6 separate regions of the Homo sapiens genome follow, and all the other regions are linked to region 2. The links are contacts of gene promoters, found by promoter capture Hi-C in human tissues and cell types (Jung and others, 2019). All regions are on one chromosome and are shown on one strand. Each heading gives the region's core, a stretch centred on a gene start or on the middle of the fragment in contact. The rest is flanking DNA. Distances are from core to core; before and after follow the strand shown. Region 1 holds the start of CCNF (cyclin F). Region 2 holds the start of SRRM2 (serine/arginine repetitive matrix 2). Region 3 holds the start of RNPS1 (RNA binding protein with serine rich domain 1). Region 4 has its middle 29 kb from the start of ABCA3. Region 5 holds the start of ECI1 (enoyl-CoA delta isomerase 1). Region 6 overlaps ABCA3 (ATP binding cassette subfamily A member 3).

Region 1 (3,421 bases), core at 288-2,787, 320 kb before region 2:
AGCTGGTGTGGCTAATGTGCTCATGGCTGGCTCTAGTTGATTAATCCCTTCAAGATGCTATGGAAGCTAACCCTGAAAGTGCACCTCTGCCCTAGGGGGAGACAGGTAACAGTGACAAAGTAGGAAACAGTAACCCAGGAGGACAAAAGTGAGATAAGGGGATAATAAATCTGGGGGCTGAGAACATGGGACATCTGGGGAGCAGGCCCCAAACTCGCTCAGCCTGTCCTCTCTTCACCCTCCTTCACCCGCTTCCTGATTCCGGGACAGGGAATATTCCCAACTTCCAGACCCTCTCTGGGGCCACGGACTCTTCTGTACCCTGTGCTGTGATCACCTGTTTACTCTGTCTCTTGCCCCAGGCCGGCTGAAGCCTGCACGCCAGGGCTCCTGTCTGTGTGCCCAGGGCAGGCCCAGTACTTGAAGGAGTTCTATGGGGACCCGGAAGGATGGAAGGGTGCAGACTGAGGGAAGCGTGAGGGAGGGGTGGGCAGCCTTGGCCCAGGCCCCTGCCTTCCCCAGGAAAAGCCCCCTCTGTCCTCCACCAGACAGTCAGGAGGCTGCGAGTCTTCCCCTTGACAGCCTGTGCCGTAAAAGGGGTGCGGTGTGGCTGACTCCTGAAGGACAGCTCAGATGGGCACTGCCCAAGACAAGAGTGAGCAGATACGACACTTCCCGCGGCGAGCAGCTCCAGGTAGCAGCCGAGGAGGCCAGACAGGGGGCAGCATCTGGCCAAAGTGATGGGGAGGGCTTGCCCCGGGGCTGGAGCACTGAGGCGTCCAGGGTGCGCCACGTTTCGCGGGAAGAAGGGGTCAGCGTTCCGCGGGGGAGACTTCCCAGCGTCAGCTCCGACCTCCTCTTTCTCTACCACGATCCCGGCCAGCATCCCCGCCCAGCAGCGGCTCAGCCACAAACCCAAGGGTCTCCACCTGAAGCAGGCGGCGGAAGGGAAGGCCGTGCAAGCTGGGGGTGAGGGTCGCGGGCCCAGGAGCGACCCCGGGACCCGGGCAGGGCACGGCCTCGTCTTAGAAGCGCCACGTCGAGGCTGTCCCAGGCTGGATCACGGCCGCGACTGCGAGGGACGCCAAGGAGTCCTCTTTCCCCTGGCCGCAGGCGTGCGCCTTCGCAGCCCATCTGGCACCGCAGATGCCGGTCGCCGGGGTCAGCGGCGAAGCCCGAACCCATGCGGCCGGGAGGGGACGCCCACAAACCCCTGCCCGCCGGCCGGGAAGCGCTCCTACGGGACCCCAGCCCCGTTGGGGAGGCGGGGCGGCCACGCGGGTTCCACCAATCAGCGGCCAATGTTCGAATTCGCGTCCTGGCGCGGCCAATGGCGGGTCCCGGAGCAGGCGGGGAGGGCGTGGAGGGCGGTAAATGAGGCGAGCACAGGGCGGGACATGGGCGGGGCCGGCGGCGGCCCCCCCGGGCAGGCCAATGGGAGGGCCGGGTGCGTTTGAAAACTGGGGTGGGCGGCGGGGCGGGGTCTGCGCCTGCGCGAGGGCTACGCGCGCTCCGGCCGGGGCGCGGGCGCGCTCTCAGGCGGGCTCCGGCGGCAGCGACGCGAGCGCGGCGATGGGGAGCGGCGGCGGTGAGTGCGGGGCGATGTCCGCTGGTTTCTGCCCCACACCCCTTCTGCCTGCCCTGCGGGGCGGACGGTGGGTCCCGCGGGAGGGGAGGCCCTGGCGGCCTGAAGAGGGCTGGCTCGAGCTCTTTAACCCGGGGCGGATGTCGCGTCCCGCGCAGGGAGCCCCGGCGGCCGGGCGCGCGGTTTAAATGCCCGGCGGGCGCCCGAGCCCCTCGGAGCCTTCCCCCGCGGCGACGTTTTCCGGCCCTTTCCTGGGGCAACGATCGGGTCCCGGGGCAGCGATCCGGCGATCGGGTCCCGGGGCGGCGATCGGGTCTCGGGGAGCCAAACACCAGCGCCTCCTGGTCGGGGAAAGGGCTGCGGAGCGCGTGGGGGCGAAGCGATCCCGCAGCCCGGCCGGGCCCTGACCGAGCCTCAGTCCAGCGGGGCCGTGGACCTAGCTCTGTGGAAAGCAGCGTTCGGCCCCGCGCGCGTTGAGGCACAGGAAACACGAACTGTGGTTTCAGCTATTATCATAGTATCTGTCCTGGAGCCGGAGAATGAGGAATATTTTATGGAGAGGTCTATAGAATCTTTGAGAATTCGTCGCCCTGGAATACGTTTGGCTTTTGCAGCTGATTTAATTGCTAACAGGAAGACCCCGGTCAAGAGAGGGGAGCCGGGAGCAATCGCTAGGAAGTCCTAGCAAGGCGGGGAGGGATTTGGGCCCACAGAGGGGAGTGGCGCTTCCTTTCAGGACTGGAAGGAAGGATGGATAGAAAGGTAGATTTGTAGATGGGGAGGCAGGATCCTGAGGTTCCTGTCTGAGGGCTTCTGTTTCCCTGTGAAATAAGGGCTAAGGTCATCTGCTTAGAGTGAGGAAGGGGTTGCTGGAGTAGGAGTTGGAAAATCCGGCTGTGGGAAGAGGAGAGAGCACATCTGAGAAGCATGTCCGGGCTGCCTGCCTGGTGGGTGGAATGCCCGTCTCACCTTTAATGATTGCATCTGTACACAAACCTACAGGTCTAGGTTTGTGTTGGGACCTGAGCAACAACCTTACTGCGTAGCTGTCAACTCCGCATTCTACAATAGAGGGCACACTGAGACTCTGCAGAGCTGAGACTTGGACGCACACTGCCCCGGCCTCCAAGTCTGTGGCTTCTCTCCAGGGCCGACCCTTCTAATTTGGACTTGAAAACCAGACTCTTCAAGCCCACAGATCTTTATTGAACATTATGCACCTTGGTCACGTGTGCAAAAAGCAAAGCTATCCAGCAAAGGCCCCAGGAGTTTTCCTGAGAGTGAAATAGAAGGAAAACCGTCCTCAGCTTCGGCAGCTTTTTCCCCTTCCTGCCTGTCATGTGGGCTCTGGATCAGAAAGTTTCCCAATAGCCAAGTTACATGACATGCGCTATTTGCCATAAATATTTGTTGAATATTTGAAAATGAATGATCTCTTCTGTAATTTGTGCAATGCCACTCCTTTACATAATCTTTGTTTGGGACAAGAAGCATAGTTCCATCTTTTGTGGCACAGGGAATAGTAACCATTAGATCATCTTCAGATGTAACTTTTATCCTTTTTTTTTCCCTTCAAGGGTGTGTATATAGAATAATTTTTCATCTTATCAAGGCTTCTGTCTTTTTTTCCTTCAGTGGTCCACTGTAGGTGTGCCAAGTGTTTCTGTTATCCTACAAAGCGAAGAATAAGGAGGAGGCCCCGAAACCTGACCATCTTGAGTCTCCCCGAAGATGTGCTCTTTCACATCCTGAAATGGCTTTCTGTAGAGGACATCCTGGCCGTCCGAGCTGTAAGTCCCTGCATGAAAACACTATGAGCCCTAGCATTGTTGATTA
Region 2 (3,575 bases), core at 653-3,152:
ACGAAGAGAAATTTCTCCAAAGATGTACAAACGGCCAACAAGCACATCAAAAGATTCTCAGCATCATCAGTCATTAGGGTACTGCAAACCATGTTTTGTCACTATTCACGGGCATTAAATGTGCTGACTCACGCACAAAACATTCCATAAAGAATATCAGTGGGGGTACAGGAAAGGGTCTCACTGGAGGTGCTGGGGTCTTTAACCAGAAAGGCAAAGCCTTTGCCACTTTACTATGCCACTCCAGAGTTGCGGCCGGCTTACAGAAGCACCGTCCATAGATGCAGAGTTCAGACACTCCAATCTGCGATCAGAGCTCCTGCAGGAGATGGGGGTGGTGGGGGGGAGGGTCTCCCGGCTCTAGCATCTGAGATAAGTACATCCTCCCACGGGCAAGTGAAAAACAAATCTTAAAGCCGGATACGGGCCGGGCGTGGTGGCTCACGCCTGTAATATCAGCACTTTGGGAGGCTGAGGTGGGCAGATCACCTGAGGTCAGGAAATCGAGACCAGCCTGACCAATATAGTGAAGCCCCGTCTTTACTAAAAATACAAAAATTAGCCAGGCGTGGTGGCACACGCCTGTAATCCCAGCTACTCGGAAGACTGAGACACGAGAATCACTTCAACCTGAGAGACAGGTTGCAGTGAGCCGACAACACACCATTGCACTCCAGCCTGGGTGACAAGTGCGAAACCACGTGAAAAAAGAAAGAACAACAACAACAACAAAAAACAAGGGCCAGATAGGGTGTCATGCACGGGTAGTCCCAGCTACTTGGGAGGCTGAGGTCGGAGGATCGCTTGAGCCCCAAATTCGAGAACAGCCTGGGCAAAACCCTGCCTCTTAAAAACACCCCCAAATCGTAATAACAAATATAAATCCTTGCACTCAAATGGACAGTTCATTACGTGGTACCGCGTCCTGTTGCGGATCAAGGCCACCTGAGTTGGTTAGGACAGCTAAGCGGGACGTCCAGGGCTGCTCGCCAGCGGTGGGTCTAGATATGAACTTGTGCTTGAGCAGCCCAGCGTCTTACAACTCTGCTGTGAGGACGGCTGGCTGATTATCAGGCCCAGAATCACGGGCTTAGAAACATTAACAGGAAGTACGGTACCGAAAAGTGGAAACTTTAAGGTGCTTATTATTTTCCTCCTGCCTTGTTCCTGTATGTGCCGCTTCACCGGTATCACGTCCTGGGTCTGGTGGGACCCCGGCCTGGCTGCCCTACCGGAAGCTAAGAAAACTCCTCCCCCAGGGGTGGCCGTCGGGCCTCAGCCCGGTCTACAGCGGGAGAACGTGGCCCATGCTACGGGTAACTGGTTGGGCCCCTGGTGCAGGTCTAGGGCCTGCAGCCAGGCTCGGGGCCTCCGGGGGTGCCCGCTGGCTGGGGTCTGAGGCGGCTTCTCTCGGGTACGGGAAGGCGGACTGCTGTGCAGCTGCGGGCTCGCTCGGGAAACCCAAAGTCACACGAAAGCGGCAGCACCACCGCGGCTGGGATATCGTCTCCCAACATGGGGAGACAAAATGGCCGCCACGCCCCGAGCCGAAATTACATCCGGGCTCCGCGACACGCCCGAACCACAACTCCCAGAATGCTCTGCATCGACAGCGGGAGACGAGACGCGCTCGGGCGTCGCTTTGCTGCCGCTAGGCCCTGTGCTCCTCCCCGCAGCGGAAGGCCTACGAATACGCGGTGTCTTACGTCGCTTCCTCCGTTCTTCGTTGCACTGGCCAACGGGACGCTTAGTCTTTCGGCAACGGGGTGAAACCTTCCTTGTGCCTGAAAAAACGGTACTTCGCGGTGTGGCTTCGGCGCCTGCGCAAAAGGCCGCGGGGCGCACTCCAGTTCCCGGCAGGCCCCGCGACGCGCGTTTGCGTGCTGACGCACGCAGTTAGTCGTGCTGACGTGCAGCGCGGCCCAGGCGGGGTGCGAGTGGCGCAGTTGGAGCCCGTTGCGGCCCCTGAGGAAGCGAGGAGGCGTCGGCGTCGGCTGAGGCGGGCGGACCGGCGAGGCGAGGCGGCGGCCCCAGGCCCGAGGGACTCGGGAGCTCGAGCAGCGGCGGCGGCAAGACCTCTCCCCCTCGGAGGCGGCGGGCGGAGGCGGCGGGTGAGAGGGTGAGGGAGCCAGCGAGCCGGGTGGGGGAGGGGCGGCGGCCCCGGCGCGAGGCCAAAGCGCGCGGAGAACTGCCCAGGCCGCCGAGCTCCTCCGCGCGCACGCGCGCTCGACGCCCTTCGCTGGCGCGGACGCCCTCGCCTCCCTTCCCCCTTCCCGCCGTTCCTGTCGCGCGCGGGCTTCACCCCCCCCCGCCCCTCCCCCATGACAACGGCGTTCGCAGCCGCCTGTACTCGGGTTCGCGAGCGCCCTTGGTGAGGGGGGAGGGCGCGCGCCTCGGCTTCACTCCTCCCCCCAACATGTGCCGCCGAGGTGGCCTTCCTGCAGCTGCCGTTTTCGGCCCTTAAGTGGCGGGGAAGGGGCGGCGGCGGGGGGCTTGCTCCTGGACCCTTGCCCCCGGTTCCAGATCTCCTTTCCTCGGGCTTCTCTTCGGCGTTGGGCTGCCCGTGTCGGGGGCCTCCCAGACTGCGGGACGCCGCGCAGCCCCCTCCCCCATTCCGCAAGGCCGAAAATAGGCCCCCGGCGCTGCGGGGAGGGCCTTGAACTTCGTGGGCCGGATTTAAATGGTTTAGGATTCCCGGCTATCAGCCTTTGAGTTGTTAGTGGCGGGGAGAAACCCCAAATCTTAAAAACTGTGAAGAAAGTGAACGTGTTCAGTTTACATTTGTAAGGTAGACCGTGCGTTCCCTTTTTACACTTTTTCAACGTCTCCCGAGAATTCGTGTTCAAACTAAGGAGGCTTTTGGAGACCTTCGTTGGGAAGAAAACGCCAGACTCATATATAAGTTTTCTGGTTGGTTTCAGGCGTTCTTTGGCACACAGCTCTTCTGAAGCTTGGTTTCCACTCGGCTTCAGTTAGGACGAATCTGGATCAGAATTTCAGAGTGTTGTGTTGTCTTTCATCCTAAGTGCGTGGGCTTAGGGCTCTTCTAAAGCTACTATTTTAGCTTTCTGGGTTCTTTGTGTCCACTCAGCCGCTCTGGAGCGCCCCGGTGCTGAGCTGGCTGTGCTTGCTGATGTCCATTTTTTTCGACAACCCTTGTCTCCCCTTTTTCTCCCCTTTTGGTACCGTTTTCTTTTTTGCATATTTTACTGTTGAATTCAAATATATCTTTCTACTTCATTGTTAGCTTACCACTCGGATAATTTCCCAACAGAAAAGGGTGTTTTTGTCTTCCTTTGTACTTTTTACTTTCTGCTTTTAACTTGGGTAACTTTTGCATATCCACTGTCTATGGCCCCCACTTTAAGAGTTTTGTAATATCGTTTGGTTTGGTGATTTGTGTGTGGTGTTGATCTTCCTACTTTCTGTGTCTTAACACACCCCTTAGATGCCGTGGGGTCGTCGTCTTTTTTTGTGGGGTGGACTAGGTGGCTCATTCCCTAAAAGTTCTCCGAAACATTGTGACCTAATATCCTTTGCTTAGCACCTACTGGTTTTTCTTTTTTTTTTTTTTC
Region 3 (3,296 bases), core at 674-3,173, 480 kb before region 2:
GCTGAAAATACGTTCTGACCCAAGAAAGAAAAGCACCTGGCTTTGAACAGTCAAATGAGAGCCAAGGAGGGCCGAACGCCACCTTTGCTGCTCTTGTCCAGGGGTAAAATGTTTTGCTTTAGAACAGTAAGGTTCTGCAGACACCCAGCAGATAGTGCCTCGACACTCTTTGTGTCCTCGGACAATCAGTGAGTATCATTCAGAGTATAATTTAGAGTCTGGAGCCAGAGGGCCTGGGTTTGATTTGAGGTTTTACTGTGTGATTTTAGACAAGTCACTTATCCTTTCTCAAGTTTCTCATCATCAATATGGTGACAATTACAGTTCCAACCTTATAGTTACCCAGGGCATTAATTAAAGACTCGATAAATGTTAGGAGCAAGAGTTGTATCTCCACGTCCGGAGGCTCCTTCCCCCACAGACACTTGTCTCCAAAGTTACACTAATTTCTGAACTCTCAGCTGGGTTCCTGCACCCACCCGCCTTCGAATCACCTGCAGCAGCACTGTCCAATAGAAACCGTGTGAGGAGCCACAAGCATCACCTGAAATTCCTTAGTAGCCACGTCACAAAAATGGGTGAAATTAATTTTTAACGTTTGACACATCCAAAATATTATCTTTCCAACATATAATCAACATAAACATCTAATAAAAGTTTGCTTTTTTCCTAGTCTTCTAAAACTGGTGTGTGTTTTAATATTTCAGTCTTGATTAGCTGTATTTCACATGCTTAGCAGCCACATGTGGCCAATGGCTACTTGGCTGGACAGCACAGACCTAGAGTGGAGGTCACACCCGCAGATTCCAGCCCCACCCCCCCAAGAACTAAGATCTGCCCGAATGTACTTGGTGAAATCAAACACCACCAGTTATTCTTAAGCACTCCAAACACTAAGAACCACTGAGTAAGCGGACGCCTTGCTGGGTGCGGTCGAGTGCTAGAAAGCAAAAGTTGAGGTTCTCTGTTCACCCAAGTTCAGGTACCGGCTCAGGACCTCGGTTACCTCCCCCATCCTCCGGAAAGGTGCGCGTCCAACAGCCAGAGAGAGGAGAGAACAATTAGTTAAATCTCGAGGAGAGGGCGTTTCGGCACAAATCTTCAGAGCACCTTCCCCATTTAAAAGTACATTTCAGGCACAGTTCATGCGGAATCAAGACAAAAAGCCTACTCCACGTTTCTCCTCCAACAAACTTAACCTTCCCGTATCCGCCCCTCTGGGGTAACCCATCAAACTGAGCTCGGCCACCGTGCTCGGTCCATAGTGGGCCGTATCCCCACGGCCTAGCGCCGATAATTGCACACGGGAGTCCGGGAAACGTTCGCGGAGTACACGTTTGAATTAATGACTCCGAAGGGGGGATCGGCCGACCTTCCACCGCATCCCACAAAGAAACTCCGCGCCCGCCGACACCGGCCCGACACGCCGACCTCGCCGCTACCCGTCCGCGTTCACTCACAACTCCCCCGTCCAGGCGCCGGGCCGCGAGCGCTTCCAGGGCAGGGCCTGGCGTTGGGGGCTTGGGTCTCCGGCCCGGCGGGAGGGCCCCAAGGGCGGAGGCCGCGCTCCCCGCTGGTCTGAGTCCCGCGGGCCTGGCTGGGCCACCGCCGAGCGGACGAAGCACAGGCGCCCTTCCGTCCGCAGCGGCCCCGACCACTTCCGGGCCACGGCCTCGACACCTCCCACTCCGCCCGCCCCGGGCCACACTCTTTCTTCTCGGAGCCCGCACCGCGCTGCCAGGCCACCGCCGCACTGCGGGGCTGAGGAGTGGACCGGCTTCACGAGGCGTCCTGCCGGGCCTGCCGGGCAGCCCCCGAAACACGGATGCAGTCGGATTCCGCCCCAACTTACATCTTCCCGCCGCCGCCACCTCCTCCTGCTTTCCTCAGCCGCCGAGGCCGGCGCCGCTCTGACGTCAGAGTCAAGGAGCGGGAAGTCGCCGCCGCCCGGCGCGCAGCGATGACGTAAACGCCTGGCCCAATGGGCGCCAGCGAGGAAGCGTTAAAGAGTCAAGGCAGTTTGTGGGAGTCGCGCTGGGGACGTTCAAGGTGTCTCCTAGCCGGTAAAGTCCCTGGGACTGACCGGGCTGGTTGCACGCTTACTGGAGCGGGCACATGGGTAGCCTGTTGAACCTGGGAGGGCAGCGCGATGACCGAGGCTCGTCCTCCGGCGCGGAGGGTGTTAACGCGCCCGTGCCCCGCCCCTTTCCTTGCGCGGGCGCACTGGGCCCGCCCGGGCAGACTCCGGCCCCTGTCGCCGGCGGTGGAGGCGGGGCTCCGGGCCGGGCTGTGCTGAGGCCGGCGGGGTGGTAGCACAGGAGGGGTTCGCAGGCTCTGCGGCCGTGCGTGGCGGGGCGTGGGGGCCCGCAGGGCGGAAGTAGCTCGGAGAGACGGGCTGGGGCAGGGCGTGCGTTCGTGCGGTCAAAATCCACTGGTGGCGTTTGGGGTGTTCCCGTGGACGCGGCCTCCCGGCAGGCGGACCTCCACCGGGTGGGCGCGGCAGGCGGGCTGTGCGGGCAGGAAGAGCGACGAGCTTGAGAGTGGGAGATGGGGTGCAACGGCGGGCCTCTCCGGGGAGGTGACACTGCCGCTGAGACCCGAATGGAAGGGCGCGCCCGGCGGGGGAACAGCAGGCGCCGAGGTTCGCTGGAAGCAGGGAAGGGAGGCCCGGGTACCGGCTCGCAGGCCCGCGCGAGCTTCGCGGCAGCGGCACGGAGCGTGTGAACGGCGCAGCGCCGAGGCTTCATCCATCGGCCGGTGCAGGGTCCGGGCAGGGAGCACTGTCGACCAGGGTCCGACCCTGGGAGAGTCCAGAGGTGGCGCCTCTGGCAGGGACAGAGGAGGGGGTGACGCTGTAGGGGTGCAGGCAGGAGGCTCCGCGTCAACTCCCCACACTGACGGGGCGGATTTTTTTTTTTTTTTGACAGAGTCTCGCACTGTTGCCCAGGCTGGAGTGCAGCGGCGCGATCTCGGCTCACTGCAACCTCCGCCTCCCGGGTTCAAGCGATTCTCCTGCCTCAGCCTCCCGAGTAGCTGGGATTACAGGCGCACACTACCACACCCGGCTAATTTTTTTTGTATTTTTCTGGTAGAGACAGGGTTTCACTATGTTGGCCAGACTGGTCGAGAACTCCTGACCTCGTGATCCGCTCCTAGGTTCGCCTTGGCCTCCCAAAGTGCTCGCTCCTGGGCGTCCCAAAGTGCTGGGATTACAGGCGTGAGCCACCGCCCCCGGCCGAGGGCGGGTTTTGTTCTCTGCTGTGCCTGTCAGGCAGTCGTTGCCCTGTGGTTATTTG
Region 4 (3,750 bases), core at 457-2,956, 380 kb before region 2:
TTTTCCACCTGCAAATACCACTCCTATTTGGTTATTTTATTTTATTTTGAGATGGAGTTTCATTCTTGTTGTCCAGGCTGGAGTGCAATGGCACAATCTCGGCTCACTGCAATCTCTACCTCCCAGGTTCAAGCGATTCTCCTGTCTCAGCCTCCTGAGTAGCTGGGATTACAAGTGCCCACCATCACACCTGGCTAATTTTTTGTGTTTTTAGTAGAGATAGGGTTTCACCATGTTGGCCAGGCTGATCTCGAACTCCTGACCTCAGGTGATCCGCCCACCTCGGCCTCCCAAACTACTGGGATTACAGGCATGAGCCACCACTTTTGGCCCTATTCTATCTTTTTAAACACATGTCCTGTTCAACACGCATGTCATATTGTATGATCTATGTCTAACATGCCTCCATTACAATCTCCACTGACTGTATCCTTTGCATTTCATCCGTCTCATTTAATTTAATGAAGAAGAAACAGAAGATAATCATCCACACTCTTGGGACTCTCTGCATGTCTGTGCAGCTCCAAAGAGTCTGTTCCTGCTTTGGGGGAATCCCTGAACTCTTTCTGGCCTGTTCATTGGCTGATGCTTCACTTTGATTTTATTTACTCTGACTGATGCTTTTAGATCTTGCCTTGATTCTTATTCCATCCTCCCTGCCCCATCTGCAACACTGGTGCAGAATCCCAGTTCCTGTTCTTCAGGCCTCTTGGTCTTGGCTGGCCCTCTCCCTTTCCCTCTCATGAATCTCCCTATCTGCATTTCTAGTCTGGGAAAATCTCCTTTTCCCTGTCTGTCATTCAGGATAAGAGGACAGAAAATTAATGCCAGAAGGTTGGAGTTTTTCCAGGAGTTCCTATTTGTCCCAAGGGCTGGCATGTGGTCCCAAAGCCAGGTCCTGACTCCTGGCTGCCATAGTCCTCTCTTCTTGGGGAGCCATGCTGACTTTCTGCTCTGTCACCCTCTGTTGAGGGTGAAGGAGAGAGCCTTGCTGAGTGGCTGCTTTGCATCTGCTTGCTCTCTCCCATGCAAAGGGGTCTAACTGCACCTGACAGAGCAAACACCTAAAACTTGGCACCCAGTACTCCCTGGATCTGCCTGCGTTGCCCAACTCTCGCTTCTGGCAACCCCAGGTTCCTAGAGAAGTACTGGGGCAACACTGACACCTGTGCATCCTCTGTCCTTCACAATAAGCATCACATTCCCGACTGAAGGCCCATGGGCCAATCCGCTCTTGAAAGACTCATGCTCTCCCATTCACTTTAGATTTTTTGGTCTTCCTTTTTGTGAGGGGTTTAGGGTGAACATCCTCTAGGCAACTAACTTTTCTTAGAAAATTAAGCTGGTAATCTACATCTGTTGTAGAATGGCTCAAATATTGGCTTGAAGCCTCAGGCCTTTGTGCACACTAAGTGAGAGTCCAAGTCCGAGTACTTACAGTTTTGCATAATTCTAGAAAAGATCCAGCAGTTCTGCAGTGAAAATACTCCTACACACAATCAAGAATATGTAACCATTCTGAGAATTTATTACCAACAATTTGTTCCTTCTTTTTCCTGGACAGATCTGAGAGTCTGCCTAGGTCTAGGCCATCTGAAGACCATAGCCACCTCTACTCCTGGGAGGGGGTTGAGGTACCCCACCTTGGCTTTGCTCATGTTGGAGCCTGGTAACCATTGCTTGGAGGTGGGGCTGTTATCTCTTAGAGGACCCCAGAACCAGGAATCTTTGCCTTTCAGCCTATTTTTCCTGAAAGCTGACCCCATCATGCCAACTATGCTGTATTGAAATGAGTGTTGCTTGTGATAAGGACTGTTTTTGAGACTTAGTAGTAAAATTCACTGACCATAAACCCAACAGCGGTAACAATTCAGAAGTAGGTCACAACAGGTTAGGGAGGCTGTGTCTTTCAAGTGCTTTGAGTTTAACCATCTCATATGAGTGCTTTGAGTTTAACCATCTCATACGTGCTGTGTGATCAAAACTGCAGAAGAGGTGCTCTTTCCCTGAAGTCTGAATACTAAGGGGAGGAGATGTGGTCCCACCTCAAAAGATTCTTGTATTGGACATCTTTTATTTTGCCTGCCCAGGCTCCTTTACCCCATTTTTGGATCATATATGCATTACCCTCAGCTCCAGGGGTCTCCCTTGTGACTTTCCTCTCTTTCTTCCACACTGTAGTGAGGACTCTAGGGATGCCTTTCCTACCGCTGTCTGTCTCTATGAATGCCTAGCCATGATCCGTCTGAAACACCAGTTGTTGTATCTTTATACTTTCTTTCTTTTTTCTTTTTCTTTCTTTCTTTCTTTCTTTTTTTTTTTTTTTTTTGAGATGGAATCTCCCTCTGTTGCCCAGGCTGGAATGCAGTGGCGCAATCTCAGCTCACTGCAACCTCTGCCTCCCACCAGGTTCAAGCAATTCTGCCTCAGCCTCCCGAGTAGCTGGGACTTTAGGCATGCACCACCACACCCAGCTAATTTTTGTATTCTTAGTAGAGATGGGGTTTCACCATATTGGCCAGGCTGGTCTCGAACTCCTGACCTTAATTTCTTGATATTCACTATTTTCTCATAGGATACAACAAAGAAGGCTTCCTGGCCATACAGTATGCTGTGGATAAAGCCATCATGTGGTACCATGCTCACAATGCAATGACCAACATGTTTGAGAATCTCAATGTACTTGTGAAGAGATTCCCATATGGACCCTATATCGAGGACAGGTTCTTCCTAGTCCTTCAGAATGAGTTTTCTGTGTTCTTCATACTCAGCTTCATGTACATTGAGCTCATCATCATCAGTTCCATTGTACTGGAGAAAGAGAAAAGACTGAAGGTAACCCCAGATACTTCAAGTGTATGCCTCTCCTGGGACAGGGGTATGGGGAAGCTGCTAATGAAAAATGACCAGAATAGGAATGAAGCCAAAAGGAGGTTGCTTAGGTGTCCAAGCAACTTCCAAGGTGAGTTGGAACTTGGAAGGTTGTTCACAATTTTAACTTGCTTGCAATCTAGGTGATCCCACCTCTGTTATTACATGAATCCTTGCCTTTAGTCTGAGAATGTCCAGCCTGGTCATTCCTGGTTGGTCAGCACACTGCCTCCCACTAGGTAGGTGTTTGAAAAATGCTTGTGGAATGACTCATGATAAGAGATCTACCCTTCACTATTCACCACCTTGCTTGATGCCCTGAAGGCTGACCTGTAGGGATCCCAGCACATGCTCCCACAAGGAATCTGGCAGGACCTCAGAGGGAAGAAGTAGGAGGATGAGGTCCCTGTGTTGACCTCAGGCCAGCAGGGAGAGATCCCTACAGGTCATTTTGGGCTCAGCTTGTTCCTTAACTGAAGGTCACTGTTCTCGCAAGATGTCTTGCCCTACAAGACTCTCCCATTCTGGATTCTGGTAGCCTCTCTTTCTTCTCATCCATTTGGATCCAAGGAAGGTATTCATGCTTTTGCTGCTAGCCCTAGGTTTCTGCACTATCCTGTAGGGTTTTCTGTCTCTGTGCACACATGTGCCTGTTATAAACAAACCCTCTTTGAATTACTGTAATTTGAATATAACAGTTGTTTCCTTTAGGGATCCTGAATGATACACAATTATATGAGAGAACTACTGCTATTATTCTTATTTAGTAGAGGAAGTAACTTGAGACATAGAGAGGTTAAAAATTTCCAGATAATTTTATATGGAACAGTACAACCTAGCCATAAATACAGTTTTCATTCCCAGATAAAGAGTAAAAGT
Region 5 (3,467 bases), core at 962-3,461, 500 kb before region 2:
GAATGGGTAGTGTGGACTACACATTGTGAATATACTTACGGCCACGGGGTTGTACATTGCAAAATGGCTAGAATGGTAAATGTGAGGCATATTTTAAAGATTTTTATGTACACACACACACACATTACCTCCGGTAAAAAAGGAAAAGTGTTCGTACAATGACAATTTTTTTACTCGAGTGCCTCCCCACTTTACCATATAAAAAGACAACGTAAGCCGGGCGCGGTGGCTCACGCCTGTAATCCCAGCACTTTGGGAGGCCGAGGCGGGTGGATCACGAGGTCAGGAGATCAAGACCATCCTGGCTAACATGGTGAAACCCCGTCTCCACTAAAAATACCAAAAAAAAAAAATTAGCCGGGCGTGGTGGCGGGCGCCTGTAGTCCCAGCTACTTGGGCGGCTGAGGTAGAAGAATGGTGTGAACCCGGGAGGCGGAGCTTGCAGTGAGCGGAGATCGTGCCACTGCACTCCAGCCTGGCGACAGAGCAAGACTCCGTCTCAAAAAAAAAAAAAAAAAAAAAAAAAAAAAGACAAAGTAGAGTTTGGAGTCAGAAAGTCAGGCCTGACTGAGATTGCAGTGAGCCGGAACCGCGCCATTGCACGCCAGCCTGGGTGACAGAGGGAGCCTCTGTCTCAAAAAAAAAAAAATAATAATTTTTTTTTTTGCATTTTGTTGAGATATATTCAAATATGCTACAGAAATGATCCCTTCAGAAACTCAGTTTTTACAAAAATTAGTGGGCATAGTGGTGGGTCCCTGTAATCCCAGCTATTTGGGAGGCTGAGGAGGGAGAATCGCTTGAACCCAGGAGGCACAGGTTGCAGTGATCGGAGATTGCGCCACTGCACTCCAGTCTGGCGACTGGAGAGCAAGACTACATCTCCAAAAAAAAAAAAAAAAAAAAAAAAAGTCAGTTTGAAGTTGGTCTTAGTTTGTCCCTCTCAAGTTTGTAGAGAGAGCCCAGGCAGCTCCCTCAGCCCAGACAGAGAGGACGGAACCAAGTTCAGAGGCACCAGGAGCCTGGAGTCCTGAAGCTGTGCAAAGTTGGGCACAGCCCTGAGTCTGGGGGGTTGGGGAGGGCAGGGGCTGTGACTTACTTGCGGAGGGGGAGGGCCTCCTCTCAGGAGCCACAGCAGGGACTGCTGCACCGGGAGGTCCAGGTCAGCATGTCCTGGAAGCAGAACTGCTGGCGCCTAGGCGTGCCCTCTCGGTGCCCTCAGCTCGGCCTCCTGTCTGGAGGGAGCGCACAGGCTTCTCTTCCAAAAGTACTTTTTCTATCCTTTCCAGTGGGTTTTACCAAGGGTTCTGACGGGCGGGTAGGTACGAGGTTCTGTGCCACATGGGAGTGTTAACAAACGTAATTTTATTCCAAAAGATTCCAATTCTTTTCCACTTCCAATTGAATAACTTAGATAACAGCTCATATCCCCGCCAACTTTATTTTTATTTATTTATTTATTTTGAGACGGAATCTTGCTCTGTGGCCCAAGCTGGAGTGCAGTGGCACAATCTCGGCTCACTGCAGCCTCCACCTCCCAGATTCCAGCGATTCTTCTGCCTCAGCCTCCCAGGCATAGGCACGCACCACCACGCCCAGCTAATTTTTTTCTTTTGTATTTTTCAGTACAGATAGGGTTTCATCATGTTGGCCAGGCTGATCTCGAACTCCTGACCTCAGGTGATCCGCCCGCCTCTGCCTCTTAAAGTGCTAGGATTACAGGCGTGAGCCACCGCGCCCGGCCTCCGCCAACTTTAAAAACAGAAACTTTTATCTCATGACGAACGAACCCAGGTAGAGCGGCAAGGTTCTGTTTCGAAACTTGGGTTCTAAACACAAACCGAGCGTCGACAGACGTGGTTCTCCGACAGCACCCCGCGAGCGCGGACCCCCGCGGGTCCTGACCCCACGCCCGCCCTCCCTCGGCGCCGCCCGCTCACCTGCGCCCGCGTCCGGCTCCACCAGCACCCGCTGGCTCCCGAAGCGCCGCGCGCCGTCTCCGCCGCCGGCCGCCCGCTCCGTCCGCCCGAGGGCCGCGCCCGGGAGCCGGGCCCCTGCGAAGGCAGCGTGGGGGAGCCCGTTAGTTCCCGGTCCTGGCCCCGGCCCCGGCCCGATCCCTGCCCACCCCGGGTTTCGCACCCGCGCGGAGCAGAACGCGCGCCGGGACTCGCACAGAAGCCACCAGCGCCATCTTGACCGCAACGCGCGGGATAAAGGTCGCGGGCTGAGCTCGCCTCCTGGGGAGGGGGCGGAGCCCCCCCAACTAGGTCCCGCCCCGTTCCCAGAGGCTGGTCAACGCCTCCACCTACCGGCCGAAACAGCCGCTCGCCGCCCTCCGGCTTCACCCCGGGCAGCCGCGCGCTTCCGGGGCAGGCACCTGGATCTGGGCCAGGGCTGGCCTACAAGGAGGCGCAGGCCCACTGCTGAAGCAGCCACGACCAGCTCAGCGCCAGGGCAGGCTCTTCTACAGCGCGGGACACTGTAGGCAAGAGGCTGCCGGTGTTCGTGACCGCGAGCTCTCGGCCGGGCCCAGCTACTGCAGTATCGGCGCTGGAAAGGCGATCAAAGCACGGAACCCCTCCCGAGGGGGCCGTCAGGGAGGCCAGGGGCTGCCTGGGGTGAGCCCGGCCTCCTGCCCCTTTGGGAACAGGATCAGAGCTGCAGGTTTAGTCACCGAAATGGGGGTGGGGGCAGCAGAACCCAGCGGTAAGAACAGGCCACCCGCCTTGCTCAGCACAAGGGCAAGTGCACAAAGGCCGGACCGCAGTGGCACCTTTTTATTTGCAGAGAAATGCCGAAAGATAAGAATACAGTCTGTTCCCGCTGGGCCGTAAGCGGCAGCTCGGGAGTGGGCCTTTGTACTGTCTGGTGTGGGGTTTTGGTCAGACCACTGGGAGCACTGGGCAGTAAGGTCCCAGCTGTGTTGGGTGGTCTCAACTTTTGTTCTCATCTTAAGCATTTCCAATTCTTCCTTGTGTCCCAAACCAATTTTTGAGGTGGAAAAATGGCCACTTAACGGAGGAGGAAGCAAGCCTGGCATGGTGACACACACCTGTAACCCCAGTGACTCAGGACCAGCTGGGTAACATAGCAACAACTTGTTGCTACAAAAAATTCTTAAAAATTAGCTCCTGCTGCTGGGCGCGGTGGCTCATGCCTGTAATCCCAGCACTTTGGGGGCCAAGGTGGGCAAATCATGAGGTCAGGAGTTTGAGACCAGCCGGGCCAATATGATGAAACGCCGTCTCTACTAGAAATACAAAAAATTAGCTGGGCATGGTGGCAGGTGCCTGTAATTCCAGCTACTCAGGAGGCTGAGGCAGGAAAATCACTTGAACCCAGGAGGCAGAGGTTGTAGTGAGCCAATATTGCGCCACTGCACTCCAACCCAGGCAACAGAGACTGTCTCAAAAAAAAAATTAAAAAATTAAAAAAAAATTAGCCCCTGCTACTCTGGACACTGAAGA
Region 6 (3,251 bases), core at 648-3,147, 460 kb before region 2:
GCTTGGGGCCCAGCGCCTGACCCCCACCCACCTGCGGCAGGTGCTGTTCTGTGTGACGCCAGCCTGGGGGCCTGCAGCTGAGGTTGCACCGGAGACTCCCAGAGCGTTGAAACGGCCGTGGGAGGAGCTCAGTGCACCACATGGCAGGGTCACCTGTGCAGACTCTGCAGGTCTCCATGGGGCCCTGCACGTTGGCACTATTTTATTTTTTTGAGACAGGGTCACTCTGTCACTGGGGGTGGAGTGCAGTGGTGTGATCTCAGCTCACTGCAACCTCCACCTCCTGGGTTCCTACCTCAGCCTCCCAAGTAGCTGGGATTACAGGCGCACACCACCACACCCAACTAATTTTTGTATTTTTAGTAGAGATAGGGTTTTGTCATGTTGGCCTAGGCTGGTCTTGAACTCCTGACCTCAAGTGATCTGCCCGCCTTGGCCTCCCAATGTACTGGGATTACAGGCATGAGCCACCACACCCGGCCCAGACACTGTTTCATTGTCTCAGGACAGTAGAGGACCAGCTGCCATCCCCTGCCCTCCCCCTGCCACAAGGAGACACCACCACACAGGTCACAGGAAACAGATGGCCGAGCCTCCCAACCAGCCTGACTGCCTCGTTCTCCAGCTTCTTTCCTTCCTGGTCCTCCGAGACAGAGAGCGTCAGGGCTTTGAGATCAGGCTGACCAGGGATCAGAATGAGCTCTGTGACTCTGTCACATCTGACTTTGGCCCAGGCCTCGGTTTCCCATCTGTGAACCGAGTGCATCAACCAACCTCCGTGTCGTTGGCTGCTAGAGAGCCTCATCAACACAGAGCTGGGCACCCGACAAGCTCCTGTTGAGCAGGGTGCTGTGCCTGAGGTAGAGCATGAGAAATTCCAGTTGCTCCATTCAAACGCTTCTCCCTGCCGACCCATGCGGTGTGAGCCGCTGCCCGCCCTCTGCCCGGTGTGCTGACTCTCCCGGACCCTGTTTGCGCCCTCGCAGACTCTCCTCTGCATGGGCTTACATGAGGCGTTTGGGGGCTGCTCGCCCTTCCCCCGCCACCCGCCCACCCACCTGGGCACTCACCCCAGTGTTGAGCTTGACAGCGGTGCGCTCCTCCTCGATGAGGGCTCCAATGCCGTCGGAGGGGTCCATGGCCCCACAGAGGTTGCTGTCCACAGCCCAGTCGCTGGCGCGCCTCTCGTGCTGGTACTGCAGGGCAGGGAGCTGGATGGCCTGGATGTCCATACTGCTGTCCACCAGCTTCCCGACCCTGTGCCGATACACACAGGGACCGGTCAGGACCCAGCTCCCCGGGTGGGTGGAGGGAGGGACTATGGTTAGAGGCACTGAGGGGAGCAGTGTTGCCGCAGTCCTTGGCTTGCTCATGCATCTGCTTATGTGTTTCCTCACTCATCAGTGTCTCCGGCCACCATGCACAGCTAATTTTTGTATTTTTAGTAGACATAGGGTTTCACCATGTTGGCCAGGCTGATCTGGAACTCCTGACCTCAAGTGATCCACCCACCTTGGCCTCTCAAAGTGCTGGGATTACAGGCATGAACCACCAAGGCTGGCAGAGGAGGTGATTTTTTAATATTATGTGAATTACATCACACACACACACACACACACACACACACACACACACACACCCCTTCCTAGAGCTCCCCGCCGATTAGGAAACACAACTGAGGCTGCAGCAGGCAGGAGGCACCCCCCGGCTGGCTTAGCAACATTGTCAGGCCACACTTGGAGCCCGTGTGAGCCCTGTCTGCCTGCTTCTTGCTCCTGTGTGCAGGCTGCCGTGAGGCCTAAGTACCTGCTCCTCTGGCCCTTGGCAGAGCCCTTCTCCCTCACTGGATTCTCCCAGTCCCACTCATCTTTCATGATCTGCTCAGAGACACCAAGTGTTGCCATCTCGTCAGTATTCCCTCTGATTAAAAGCCTTCCTGCCCATGGTCTGAGCTCCGGTGGGCGCTTACCAGCCTGGCTAGCTCTCCCCAGGTCCTAGACAAACCAGGAAAAGCTTCTGATTATTTTTCTCTTGAGACCAGGAGCTCAGAGAGGCCAGGGTCAGGTGTGGGGCCTGGAGCTGAGTCACAGGTGGGCCGTGTGGTGAGTATGAGATGGGGCCAGAGAGGCCTGAGACCTTGAGAGACAAGAGGCCCTGTGGCTGCTGAGACGCAGCAGGATCAACCCGGGTTCTACCCTCAGAGCCGGCTGACTCCAGGCCAGCCCGTGGTTTCTTTCTGTTATGTTCATGCTTCCTTCCTTCCTTCAACCAGGATTCACAGAATCAGTCAGTCAGTGCTCGGTCCTGTGTGGGACACAGGTCAGCGGGCAGTCCCTCCCTCCCTCCGCCGCCTTGCCTGGCCTTTTTCCCTGGGTCTGTTCCTGGACACATGGTCCCCTGCACAGGTGTCCCCAGAGCATGCACCACCATGTCCTGCATGTATGATCACCTATTCTGTCGCCTCCTCTAGGCTGTGGGCTCCCTAAGGAGGAAAACCTATCTCACGTTTTTTTCTTTTTCTTTTGACACAGGGTTTTGCTCTGTCCCCCAGGGTGGAGTGCAGTGGCACAATCTCAGCTCACTGCAACCTCCACTTCCCAGGTTCAATTGATTCTCCTGCCTCAGCCTCCCAAGTAGCTGAGATTACAGGTGTGTGCCACCATGCCCGGCTAATTTTTGTAGTTTTAGTAGAGATGGTGGCTGGGGGTGGTGGCTCACGCCTGTAATCCCAGCACAGATCTTCAGGTGGGTCACCTGAGGTCAGGAGTTCCAGACCAGCATGGCAAAACCCCATCTCTGTTAAAAATACAAAAAAACTAGCTGGGCGTAATGACGTGCGCCTGCAGTCCCAGCTACTGAGGCTGAGGCAGGAGAATCGCTTGAATCTGGGAGGCAGAGGTTGCAGTGAGCTGAGATTGCACCACTGCACTCCAGCCTGGGAGACAGAGTGAGACTCTGTCTCAAAAAAAAAGAGATGGGATTTCACCATGTTGACCAGGCTAGTCTCAAACTCCTTGGCTCAAGTGATCGCCTGCCTCGGCCTCCCAAAGTGCTGGGATGACAGGCGTGAGCCACCACGCCCAGCCCCCATGCAGTTCTGAGGGTCTGGATGAGATAGTTCCCATCTTCATTAACGACACAGGTATCTCCCAAGGACGATCTAAGCCCAAGAAGAGCTGGGCACGCCTCTGACGCCGTGTGCCAGCTAGACCCGTGGCGGGTCTAGGAGGGACCCCAAGGCAGTGCAGGCC

The links. Contacts are between HindIII fragments. The study calls those that stand out against the background at their distance.
Region 1: the fragment with the promoter of CCNF here is called in contact with the fragment with the promoter of SRRM2 in region 2 in 6 of the 25 tissues and cell types used here (hippocampus, liver, lymphoblastoid cells and 3 more).
Region 3: the fragment with the promoter of RNPS1 here is called in contact with the fragment with the promoter of SRRM2 in region 2 in 1 of the 25 tissues and cell types used here (mesenchymal stem cells).
Region 4: a contact is called between a fragment that was not itself captured here and the fragment with the promoter of SRRM2 in region 2, in 2 of the 25 tissues and cell types used here (lymphoblastoid cells and thymus).
Region 5: a contact is called between the fragment with the promoter of ECI1 here and the fragment with the promoter of SRRM2 in region 2, in 1 of the 25 tissues and cell types used here (lymphoblastoid cells).
Region 6: a fragment that was not itself captured here is called in contact with the fragment with the promoter of SRRM2 in region 2 in 1 of the 25 tissues and cell types used here (spleen).

The regions. Positions count from the first base shown.
Region 1 is chr16:2,427,910-2,431,330 of GRCh38, forward strand. It overlaps CCNF (cyclin F), which reads left to right and starts at 1,538. Exons shown (of 17, transcript NM_001761.3): 1 at 1,538-1,588; 2 at 3,221-3,375. The coding sequence starts at 1,573. RefSeq lists enhancers at 599-1,178, 614-793 and silencers at 1,004-1,853, 1,864-1,913. The HindIII fragment of the contact is 14,340 bases long and covers 1-3,421 here.
Region 2 is chr16:2,750,736-2,754,310 of GRCh38, forward strand. SRRM2 (serine/arginine repetitive matrix 2) reads left to right here and starts at 1,903. Exons shown (of 15, transcript NM_016333.4): 1 at 1,903-2,111. SRRM2-AS1 (SRRM2 antisense RNA 1) reads right to left here and starts at 1,865. Exons shown (of 6, transcript NR_027275.1): 1 at 1,707-1,865. RefSeq lists enhancers at 783-1,625, 1,225-1,394, 1,455-1,744, 1,626-2,468, 2,469-3,311 and silencers at 1,925-2,234, 2,255-2,314. The HindIII fragment of the contact is 13,386 bases long and covers 1-3,575 here.
Region 3 is chr16:2,266,203-2,269,498 of GRCh38, forward strand. It overlaps RNPS1 (RNA binding protein with serine rich domain 1), which reads right to left and starts at 1,924. Exons shown (of 8, transcript NM_080594.4): 1 at 1,853-1,924. MIR3677HG (MIR3677 and MIR940 host gene) reads left to right here and starts at 2,461. Exons shown (of 3, transcript NR_132988.1): 1 at 2,461-2,641. RefSeq lists an enhancer at 1,732-1,991 and a silencer at 2,122-2,571. The HindIII fragment of the contact is 10,724 bases long and covers 1-3,296 here.
Region 4 is chr16:2,367,763-2,371,512 of GRCh38, forward strand. It overlaps the pseudogene ABCA17P. Among named protein-coding and RNA genes, the nearest start is that of ABCA3, 29 kb to the left of the region's middle. The HindIII fragment of the contact is 6,058 bases long and covers 1-3,750 here.
Region 5 is chr16:2,249,376-2,252,842 of GRCh38, forward strand. It overlaps ECI1 (enoyl-CoA delta isomerase 1), which reads right to left and starts at 2,212. Exons shown (of 7, transcript NM_001919.4): 1 at 2,140-2,212; 2 at 1,941-2,054. The coding sequence starts at 2,191. LOC107984839 (a long non-coding RNA gene) reads left to right here and starts at 2,295. Exons shown (of 2, transcript XR_001752052.2): 1 at 2,295-2,618. RefSeq lists enhancers at 1,544-1,673, 2,604-2,663 and a silencer at 1,884-2,353. The HindIII fragment of the contact is 14,026 bases long and covers 921-3,467 here.
Region 6 is chr16:2,288,364-2,291,614 of GRCh38, forward strand. It overlaps ABCA3 (ATP binding cassette subfamily A member 3), which reads right to left. Exons shown (of 33, transcript NM_001089.3): 20 at 1,071-1,257. Among named protein-coding and RNA genes, the nearest start is that of MIR4717, 15 kb to the left of the region's middle. The HindIII fragment of the contact is 8,847 bases long and covers 1-3,251 here.